Linked DNA regions of Homo sapiens: all the other regions are linked to region 3. The links are contacts of gene promoters, found by promoter capture Hi-C in blood cells and fetal thymus (Javierre and others, 2016). All regions are on one chromosome and are shown on one strand. Each heading gives the region's core, a stretch centred on a gene start or on the middle of the fragment in contact. The rest is flanking DNA. Distances are from core to core; before and after follow the strand shown. Region 1 holds the start of SDHAF4 (succinate dehydrogenase complex assembly factor 4). Region 2 holds the start of FAM135A (family with sequence similarity 135 member A). Region 3 holds the start of SLC17A5 (solute carrier family 17 member 5).

The links. The method cuts DNA at HindIII sites, captures the fragments that hold promoters and counts their contacts. A CHiCAGO score of 5 or more calls a contact.
Region 1: the fragment with the promoter of SDHAF4 here is called in contact with the fragment with the promoter of SLC17A5 in region 3 in 1 of 17 cell types (total B cells); the score reaches 7.5 in total B cells.
Region 2: the fragment with the promoter of FAM135A here is called in contact with the fragment with the promoter of SLC17A5 in region 3 in 5 of 17 cell types (activated CD4 T cells, non-activated CD4 T cells, total CD8 T cells and 2 more); the score reaches 8.4 in activated CD4 T cells.

Annotation. Positions count from the first base shown.
Region 1 is chr6:70,565,562-70,568,463 of GRCh38, reverse strand. SDHAF4 (succinate dehydrogenase complex assembly factor 4) reads right to left here and starts at 1,534. Exons shown (of 3, transcript NM_145267.3): 1 at 1,460-1,534. The coding sequence starts at 1,523. RefSeq lists a silencer at 1,187-1,246. The HindIII fragment of the contact is 5,796 bases long and covers 1-2,233 here.
Region 2 is chr6:70,412,230-70,414,929 of GRCh38, reverse strand. It overlaps FAM135A (family with sequence similarity 135 member A), which reads right to left and starts at 1,422. Exons shown (of 22, transcript NM_001162529.3): 1 at 1,228-1,422. FAM135A-AS1 (FAM135A antisense RNA 1) reads left to right here and starts at 972. Exons shown (of 2, transcript NR_147708.1): 1 at 972-1,093; 2 at 1,868-2,102. RefSeq lists silencers at 906-1,055, 1,396-1,615. The HindIII fragment of the contact is 2,225 bases long and covers 168-2,392 here.
Region 3 is chr6:73,652,608-73,655,440 of GRCh38, reverse strand. SLC17A5 (solute carrier family 17 member 5) reads left to right here and starts at 1,449. Exons shown (of 11, transcript NM_012434.5): 1 at 1,449-1,648. The coding sequence starts at 1,555. RefSeq lists an enhancer at 245-334 and a silencer at 1,334-2,003. The HindIII fragment of the contact is 4,556 bases long and covers 294-2,833 here.

The sequences.
Region 1 (2,902 bases), core at 285-2,784, 3.1 Mb after region 3:
TAAAGATTAAAAACACCATTGCACAGTTGTATCAGGAAGCAGCAAATAGAGACCTCCTTGGCAATAGAGACTATTTCTTAAATTGGAGTATAAGTTCATAGATGCTGGTTGTGCTTCATAGCTTACATGACTGCTACATAGCTTACATGTGTGCTACGTGTGTGTGTGTGTATACATATATATATATGGAATAATTCATAATTGTTTAAAACTAGTTAAAGGGGGATGTTGAATGAACCCTACAAAATTTTAACGTTATTACCTTGAGGTTTGGATAATGTAGGACTTTCACTTTCTGTATTATTCATTTCTGGACTATTTAAAACTTATACAATTAAGTAAAATGTTTGTATTTGGGTAAAATGATTGCACAAAGGAAAACAAATTGCATAGAAATCTGGCACCATTTGAGGGCAATAATTACTGTTTTCAACTTACATAACTTCTCCAGGTGTCATATATTAAAATTATGTTTTGCGGACCGGGCGCGGTGGCTCACGCCTGTAATCCCAGCACTTTGGGAGGCCGAGGCGAGCGGATCACAAGGTCAGGAGATCGAGACCATCCTGGCTAACACGGTGAAACCCCGTCTCTACTAAAAATACAAAAAATTAGTCAGGCACGGTGGCGGGCGCCTGTAGTCCCAGCTACTCAGGAGGCTGAGGCAGGAGAATGGCGTGAACCTGGGAGGCAGAGCTTGCAGTGAGCCGAGATTGCGCCACTGCACTCCAGCCTGAGGGACAGAGCGAGACTCCATCTCAAAATAAATAAACAAATAAATAAATAAATAAATAAAATTATGTTTTGCATAGTCTGGGCTGCTAACTGTATTATCTTGAGAAAAATTTCCAACAACAATGGGTTTAAAAATGTTGGTTTTACTGAAAGCATGAATGCTTTTTCTGTACTGACAATTCCTGGCTTCATCTAATTTACGTTATACTTATTTGCCTTTGGCTCACTTCTGCACTTTTCCCATTTTTAAAAGATAAACTGTAAACTGCCACAAATCCTTTTCTGCTGGAGCCTGGACCAGGAGCGCGGATTCCTGTAAATAATGATGTAAATAAATAAGTAAATCAATGACTCCCATTCCCAAAGGGCCTTCTTTTCCATTTTTCTCTGGGGCATCGAAGTGCGGTGTGCCCTGCGAGCTCCCACAGGAACAACCCGGAACGTTTGTGGTCCTGTTGGGCCACCGCGTGCTCGGTAGGAAGCGGACGTCCCGGGGGCTGAAAGGGCCTTAGCGATTTTCTCGCTCTAGTCCCACCCGAGACCCGGGGCGCTGCAGGAACCTGCCCAGGCCACCGGGTGGGCGGCTGGGCGGGAGAAGCTGGGCAGCCCCTGGCAACACCGAACGGCCAGGACACACGCGGCTTCCTCCGCGGGAGGCGCTTCTCTCTGCGCCTGGGCCTTCACGACCCCTCCCGCGACCGTGGCCCCGAGGCCAGGTGCTTACTTGCCGCTCTCCACGCCGTGGCCGAGACCCAGCTAAGCAACCAGGGAAGCCTCGATGGGGTCATGGCGCCGACTCCCCGAGCCTCCGCGCAGGCGCAAAGCAGTAGTGGGAGGAGCAGGGGGCATGATCCGGAGCCTCCCTGCAGAGGGCGGGGCCTCCGTGGCCGGCTTTAGAAAAGGAGTTAGAGGCATCCCTGGGCTCTTTGGCCAAGAGAGACCCAGGCTACCTTGAGCCCGGTGTTAAAACGCCAAATCGTGGCTGCAGTTAGAAGAGGGAATAATTCCGTTCCGTTCATGCTTGTCAGTCTGAGCCGAAATGGCCCGTGGAAGATCCCTTTTATAGTTTACAAAGATTGAGCACCTTTTACTCTCTCACTCATGTAAAATGCTTCTTTTACCTAATTCTCCCTGTTTTGTGTTTTAAATCTTTGTTCAGTCAGCTCCTAGTTCGTCCATTCTGACCGACTAACCAGATGATATGAAAGGCGACATTTTTGAATGAGGTGCAAAGCAAGAAAAGGCTCTCCATCCAGGCCAGGATCCAGTGCAATGAGCTCTGCCCCTTAACCCTTACATCCCACCAGCTCTGATAGCGTTGAGTGGATGTGGCAGACCTGGATGCTTTGTGCAACTCGTGGAAATATTTACAGAATCATAGTGAAGGCCCCCAGAATTCTGGAATTTTGTCTTTTCTTTTAAAGAAAAGTTTCTGGCTAGCTATTGCGCCTTGGTAGTGTCTGACCATGTGACATCAAGTGGTTATACGATCGAAGCTTCTTATCATGAACTGAGAATTATCTGGTTCTCCTAGATAAGGAGATCCTTTTACGAAGAGAAAGTGGGCCGGGCAAGGTGGCTCACTCCTGTAATCCGAACACTTTGGGAGGCCGAGGCGGGTAGATTACCTGAGGTCAGGAGTTCGAGACCAGCCTGGCCAACACTCTACTAAAAATACAAAAATTAGCCGGGCGAGGTGGCACATTCCTGTAATCCCAGCTACTTGGGAGGCTGAGGTAGAAGAATCGCTTGAACTCGGGAGGCGGAGATTGCAGTGAGCAGAGATCACGCCACTGCACGCCAGCCTTGGAGACAGAGCAAAACTCCATCTCAAAAACAGAAAAAGAAAAAAGAGAGAAAGTGGGATACACAGAACTGGGCCAAAGTCAAAACGGAAACAGTTTTCATTTGTAGGGAGCTCACAGTCCTAATATCATGCTTTTGACCTTTAGCTTATATCTACAGTTTAATAATGAATTCCTTGTGACTAGCTGACTGAGGAAAAAATTCAAAGTCGGATGATGGCTTTGCTCAATAAACTGGCCCAGCTGGCAACTGACTGCTTTTCATATTTAGAGCCCCACTTAACAGAGGCCCTGAAGGAACAGAACAGGGAAAAAAAATTATTTCCAGCATGCATAATTTAGCTTATTTATGTATTTTATGT
Region 2 (2,700 bases), core at 173-2,672, 3.2 Mb after region 3:
TTCTTGGACAGCTACACCTAATGGAGGACAAGAAAATTTCCAAATTTTAAGTGTATGTTTGTAGGTCAACCTTTAACAAGTCTTAACCCATTATAGTTTCATTTAGTCTGTACTCAAGTTGCTTTCCCAGGCATGCCAGGTAAACATAATTCTTAAAAATTAAAGCTTTAATCAGTAAGTGTAACCGATTTGTTGCTACTGTCACTCTTTTGATGATACTTCCACCAACCGGTAAAGAAAGAAGAAATGTTATTAAACTGGAAGATGAACTAGAAACATTGAGTGGATACCTAGCTTAGGCAGAAAGCAGCAAGGACTAGAAGGGTATGTCACAAAGAAGTCTTCAGAGATTTAATAAAAAGTAAAACAAATGGAATGAAGTTAAGAGGCTTGACTTATACAAATGGGGGGGGGAGGGTGGAAGAGTTTTGGAGGGGAAAAAATTAAGATTAGAGACTCACTGGGTGCAGAATGGAAAAGGACGTGAGGATAGGGGCCATTAGACAGAAAGCGATGAAGCAGGGTACCAGAGGAAAGAGAAGGCAGTGAGGGTTTCCGAAGCTAAGATGGGGCATGGAATGAACTCCAATGCAAAGCGATGCTAAAGCAAAACACAATCGGCAACTAACAAAAAGGGAACCAGGAGGAAGTACCGAAAGGAGGTGGATGAGAGGAAAATAAAACCAAGGAAGAAATTATGGAGGTAACAAGAGTGAGAAACCTGGTCGGCCAGGGTAAGGAGCTCCGGACAGGGAAGAGCCAGGCAAGGGATGGAAGCACAGAGATACGCTGCTTCCCAAGGAGGGACCACCCGGGCAAAAAGACACGTGGGAGGCGCGGGATGAAAAAGCAGAACCACGAAAGCGGGTAAAGGAGGGACAGAGCGACGAAGATGGAGCAGGGGTGAAGGGCAAACACGCTAGGCGCGAGGTTCAGGAAGAACGGGTCGAGGGACGCGCGCAGGGGCAGGGGCGGCCGCGGGCACCGGGAGAGCAGCGCGCCGCGGCCCCTCGCCTCCCTCAGAGCGCTCCGCACCGCCGTCCCCACCGACCTTCAACGGGGCCGGGGCCAGGCTCCGACCGCCAGCAGTCGGGTGAGGGGCCGCGGCGGGCGAACGGCGGACGAAGAGGAGGCCGCTTCCTTCCTGGCCCCTGGGCAAGAGGGACGGAGGGAGGGGTCGTGGGTGTCGGGAGCCGGGGGAGCCAGAGGGGACAGTAAGGGGGTTACCTCTCGCCCGGCTCGGCCTCTTCCCCCGCCTGTCGAACGGAGGAGCTCGTTGTCCAGCTGCAAGAAGACGGCCCGACCCGGGTCAGCACCATCCCGCCCCGGGCCCCCTCACATCGCCATCACAGCAACCGCAAACACCGCAACCGCGGAGCCGGTTCGTCACCGCGGCTCGGCTACTGGCCCAGCGCGGCCAGCGAGCATGCGCAGTCGCCCCAGTCCCGAGGGAGCCCGGGCCAGCCGGCTATACCTGCGATCAACAGGTCCCCGGCCGCACGGCCCCGCCCCCGGCCTCTCTCACCTCCTCCTCCCGCCTCTTCCCTCCCCTCTCTGAGGCTAGGCCCCGCCCCTTCAAGCTCCGTGCCCCGCCCTTCAGGAGCTTCAACTGCCCCTCCAGCTCCAGCGCCAACTGAGATTTCGAGAGATTTGTCCTCCCTACCAGGCTCCCGTTCCCAAGTTCCCGCGAGAACGGGAGGTTTGCGTCAATAAAAGGCGCGCGTCAAGAAAAGGGGCTCGCTTGTGGGTTTAAGGGATGGAACTTGGAGGTGGTTGAAGAGTAGTGAACAAGAAGAGGGCAAAAACACGGAGTTCGAGAACTTTAGCCGTTTTTCTCACAATGTTGTTTCTCCTTTTCTCTCTTTAGCTCCTCCGTGCAGTCCCGGGTAGAGAGCCCGGTCCCTGCGCTAGTCGATTTGTGCAGTAGGAAAGGAGGCTGCAGGGGATCTGCGCCGGGGCAGGACAGATGCCTTTCGGGACCCAGTGTTTGCATCTTGGGAGATGTGGGTGCTGATCTGGTTGTTTCTTGGTTTATGACGCCAAAAAGGGCGGGAGGGGGCTGATGAAGTGAAGCCTTTCGCTAATACATTCCGTTAACAGAAGCCCACGAAGGATCATTGATTTATTTCACTCTTCCCTGTTTCTGAACCTTATCTGGCAAAAACTTTTGTGGTGCATAAAGTTCAGTATGTTGCTAAAGCTGAGTTAATGAAAGGAAAATTTCAGCTGCGACTCTTGTTTTAAAAATGAATCTAGGATGGATAGTGGTGTTGGTTGCACAACAATGAATGGACATAATGCTACTGAACTGTGCACTTAAAAATGGTTAAAATGGTAAATTTTCTGTTATGTATATTTTACCACAATAAGAATGAATTAGAAGGGAAAAGCTTTGTGCATTCATTTGAAAGTAATGGTGAGGTCTTGTAACGTAGGCCATTTAGGGGACAGGTTTTGAATATATCTTTGTACCAGTTTTTTTTTTTTTCGAGTGTGTGTGTGAGACAGAGCATTGCTCCGTCGCCCAGGCGGGAGTGCAGTAATGTGATCTCGGCTCACTGCAACCTCTGCCTCCGGAGTTCAAGCAATTCTCCTGTCTCAGCCTCCCTAGTAGCTGGGACTACAGGCGCACACCACCACGCCTGACTACTTTTTGTATTGTTAGTAGAGACGTGGTCTCACCATATTGGTCAGGCTGGT
Region 3 (2,833 bases), core at 200-2,699:
CATAAAATTAACCATCACACCAGATCTGCTGAATCTGAATCTACATTTTAAAAGGATTTGCCAGGTGACTCTGCATAATCCAGTTTGAAAATTGCATTTTTCTACAACCCTTAGAGAGTGTAAAAATCTACATGGTAATTCAGTAACTCAGAAACAAGGCTTGATTTGCTGCTTTAACTTGAGAACTTTTCTAGCATTTACTGATCTGGAGGTAGGGATGCCTACAGAAATCCTCGCCCTCCCTTCTAGGTAAAGGACCCTCCCCTTTGTTCTCACGTGAACCTCACTAAGCTTCTAACCTGGTTTACTGAATTAGTGGCTTGTGGGTCTTCCCTGTCTACACCAAACTCTCCGAGAGCATCTACATCTTATTTTCTACCTCCACAGAGACAGCCTTTATTGGCGGATCCAGATCTGCCCTGCCAAGGCAAGCTGGGTTTTCCTAGTTTCACTTTCAGAGTCCGCAAATGCTAGCACAATCTATCCAAATTCTATCGTGGAGATAAAGCATGCACACATACATCAGAGGATTCCATAGGTCGAACCATATGAAACTACCTATGTTGATTACTTTTACCTATAAAACCAGCAACATCATAGGACTCAACAAATTTCCATTGCTGTTTTTCCGCCTAAAAGCTATTTTAGGACCAGGAGCAGTGGCTCACGCCTGTAATCCCAGCACTTTGGGAGGCCGAGGAGGATTGCTTGAGCCCAGGAGTTCGAAACCAGCTTGGGCAATATAATAAGACCAAGCCTCTACAAAAATAAAAAGTAGAAACAAAATTAGCCAGATGTGGTGGCATGCTCCTGTAGTCCCAGCTACTTGGGGGAGCTGAAGAGAATCGCTTGAGTCCAGGAGTTGGAGGTTGCAGTGAGCTGCGATTGCGCCACTGCATTCCAGCTTGGGCAACAGAGCAAGACCCTGCCTGGGAGAAAAAAAAAAAAAAAAAAAAGCTATTTTAGGGACAATATGCCGCCACAGTCACGAGGTAAATATGCCGCCACAGTCACGAGGTAGATCGTACAAAGGTTGCTAACAGTATGGCAACTGACCGCTAACAAGCGAATGTCAAGTTGTGAAATGCACACCACCCACTTCCCTAGTTCGGTCGAAGCCCTCCCCTTAATTATGTGCAATTCAAGTCCCCACTGCCCGCCCGCAAGCCCCCACTCATCCTCGCTGCGGGCAGGGTGGCCCCTGCACTTTACAAGGGGGTGCAGGAGCGGGAGACGGTCGTCCGAACACCGGCTCCCCGGCATGCGTAGACCGGCGGGCGGAGCGGGCTCACTTTGCGCCAATCCTACGAGAACTCCCAGAACTCCGCTTCCCTAGTCCAACCCAAGCCAGAGTTGCCCACACCTAAGATGGCGGCGGGGGCGGAGTCGGCGCGGCCGCCTCTGGGCGGGACCGCGGGGACTAGACGTGGCCGCGGGGCGGTGTCATCGCCCCCGCCCCGCCCGGTCCAGCCAGCTCGGCCCGGGGGCTTCGGGCTGTCGGGCCGGCGCTCCCTTCTCTGCCAGGTGGCGAGTACACCTGCTCACGTAGGCGTCATGAGGTCTCCGGTTCGAGACCTGGCCCGGAACGATGGCGAGGAGAGCACGGACCGCACGCCTCTTCTACCGGGCGCCCCACGGGCCGAAGCCGGTAAGCGGCGGGGTCGTCCAGGGGCTTCGAGTGGGCAGCGGTACCGGGGGCGGCGGTCTCTGGGCCGGCATGGCCCGGGTACCCGCACCCTGCGCCGGCGGGACCGGAGCTGCTCAGGCGCGAGGGGACATTAAGAGGGGAGCCCGTTCAGAGTGCCGCTCAGTCCCGCCTGCCTCGGTGCGCAGAAGCCCCTCGGGAACCCCGGGGGCCGCGACCGTGATCGCGGAGCCGAGCCGGGGCCTCGGCAGGTGCAGCCCCACCGGGCGGGGGCGGGGGCGGGGGCGGGGGCGGGGGAGCGGCGGTGCAGCCGGCGCTGAGCTGGTGGTTATTTTGGGTAGTGCTGAGCAAGGGACCCAGTGGAAGAACGAACTGGGAGAGAATCATCAAATGAATGGGCTAAGGTCCGAGCGGAGGACCCCGGTGTAAGAGCAAACTGGAGGAGAAACCTGCAGATCAGTAGGCAGAGGGCTGTCCTTCCCTGTCACCGCTAGGTTTCCGCCACTGCGTATCCGCCAGCATGTGACCTGGTAGCTTCTTAGGCGGGGAGGGAAGACAAAAAAGGACTGGAGTTAACATTTGTGAGTATGCAGAGGGCAACTATTGTATAACCCAGCTGATATCTTGACATTGTGCAGTAAGAGACTAAAAACATCGAGGACATTTTTTTTCCGTCTGGCAGTCTATGATTTAAGTTAGGAAAAGGTTCAGTTATCCTCAAGATACCTATGGAGTTCTAAAGTAATTTGCCAAAGGTCTTGGAACAAATCGAAAAGCAGGTACGTCATAAAGCATCTTCCCTGAATTTGAGAAAATTAAAATATTTTGCTATTTGACACTTTTGTAATATAGTTTATTTAAAAGTAACGAAAACTAAAGAACAAATCAGTTTGAATGCATTCTATAGTTTCAAAGATCTGTGCGTGAGAAAGAGTTGTGTTGGAAATTTGACTTTGGCTAACCCAGAATTGTATAGTTTCTATATTTTTATTTGTTTTTAATGTTACCAGATGGTGGCAGTAGAGGTGGCAACCTTATAGCTCCATCTGGCAGCCGGGAGCTTATTTTAGTCAACACAAACTGTAAATACCATACCATAGTTACGTTTTACCTGGAAGTCGGACTTAGTTCCATAAACTGATCATTTTCTGTGGCTTGTAGTGTTCAAATTGTATAATATTCCTCATA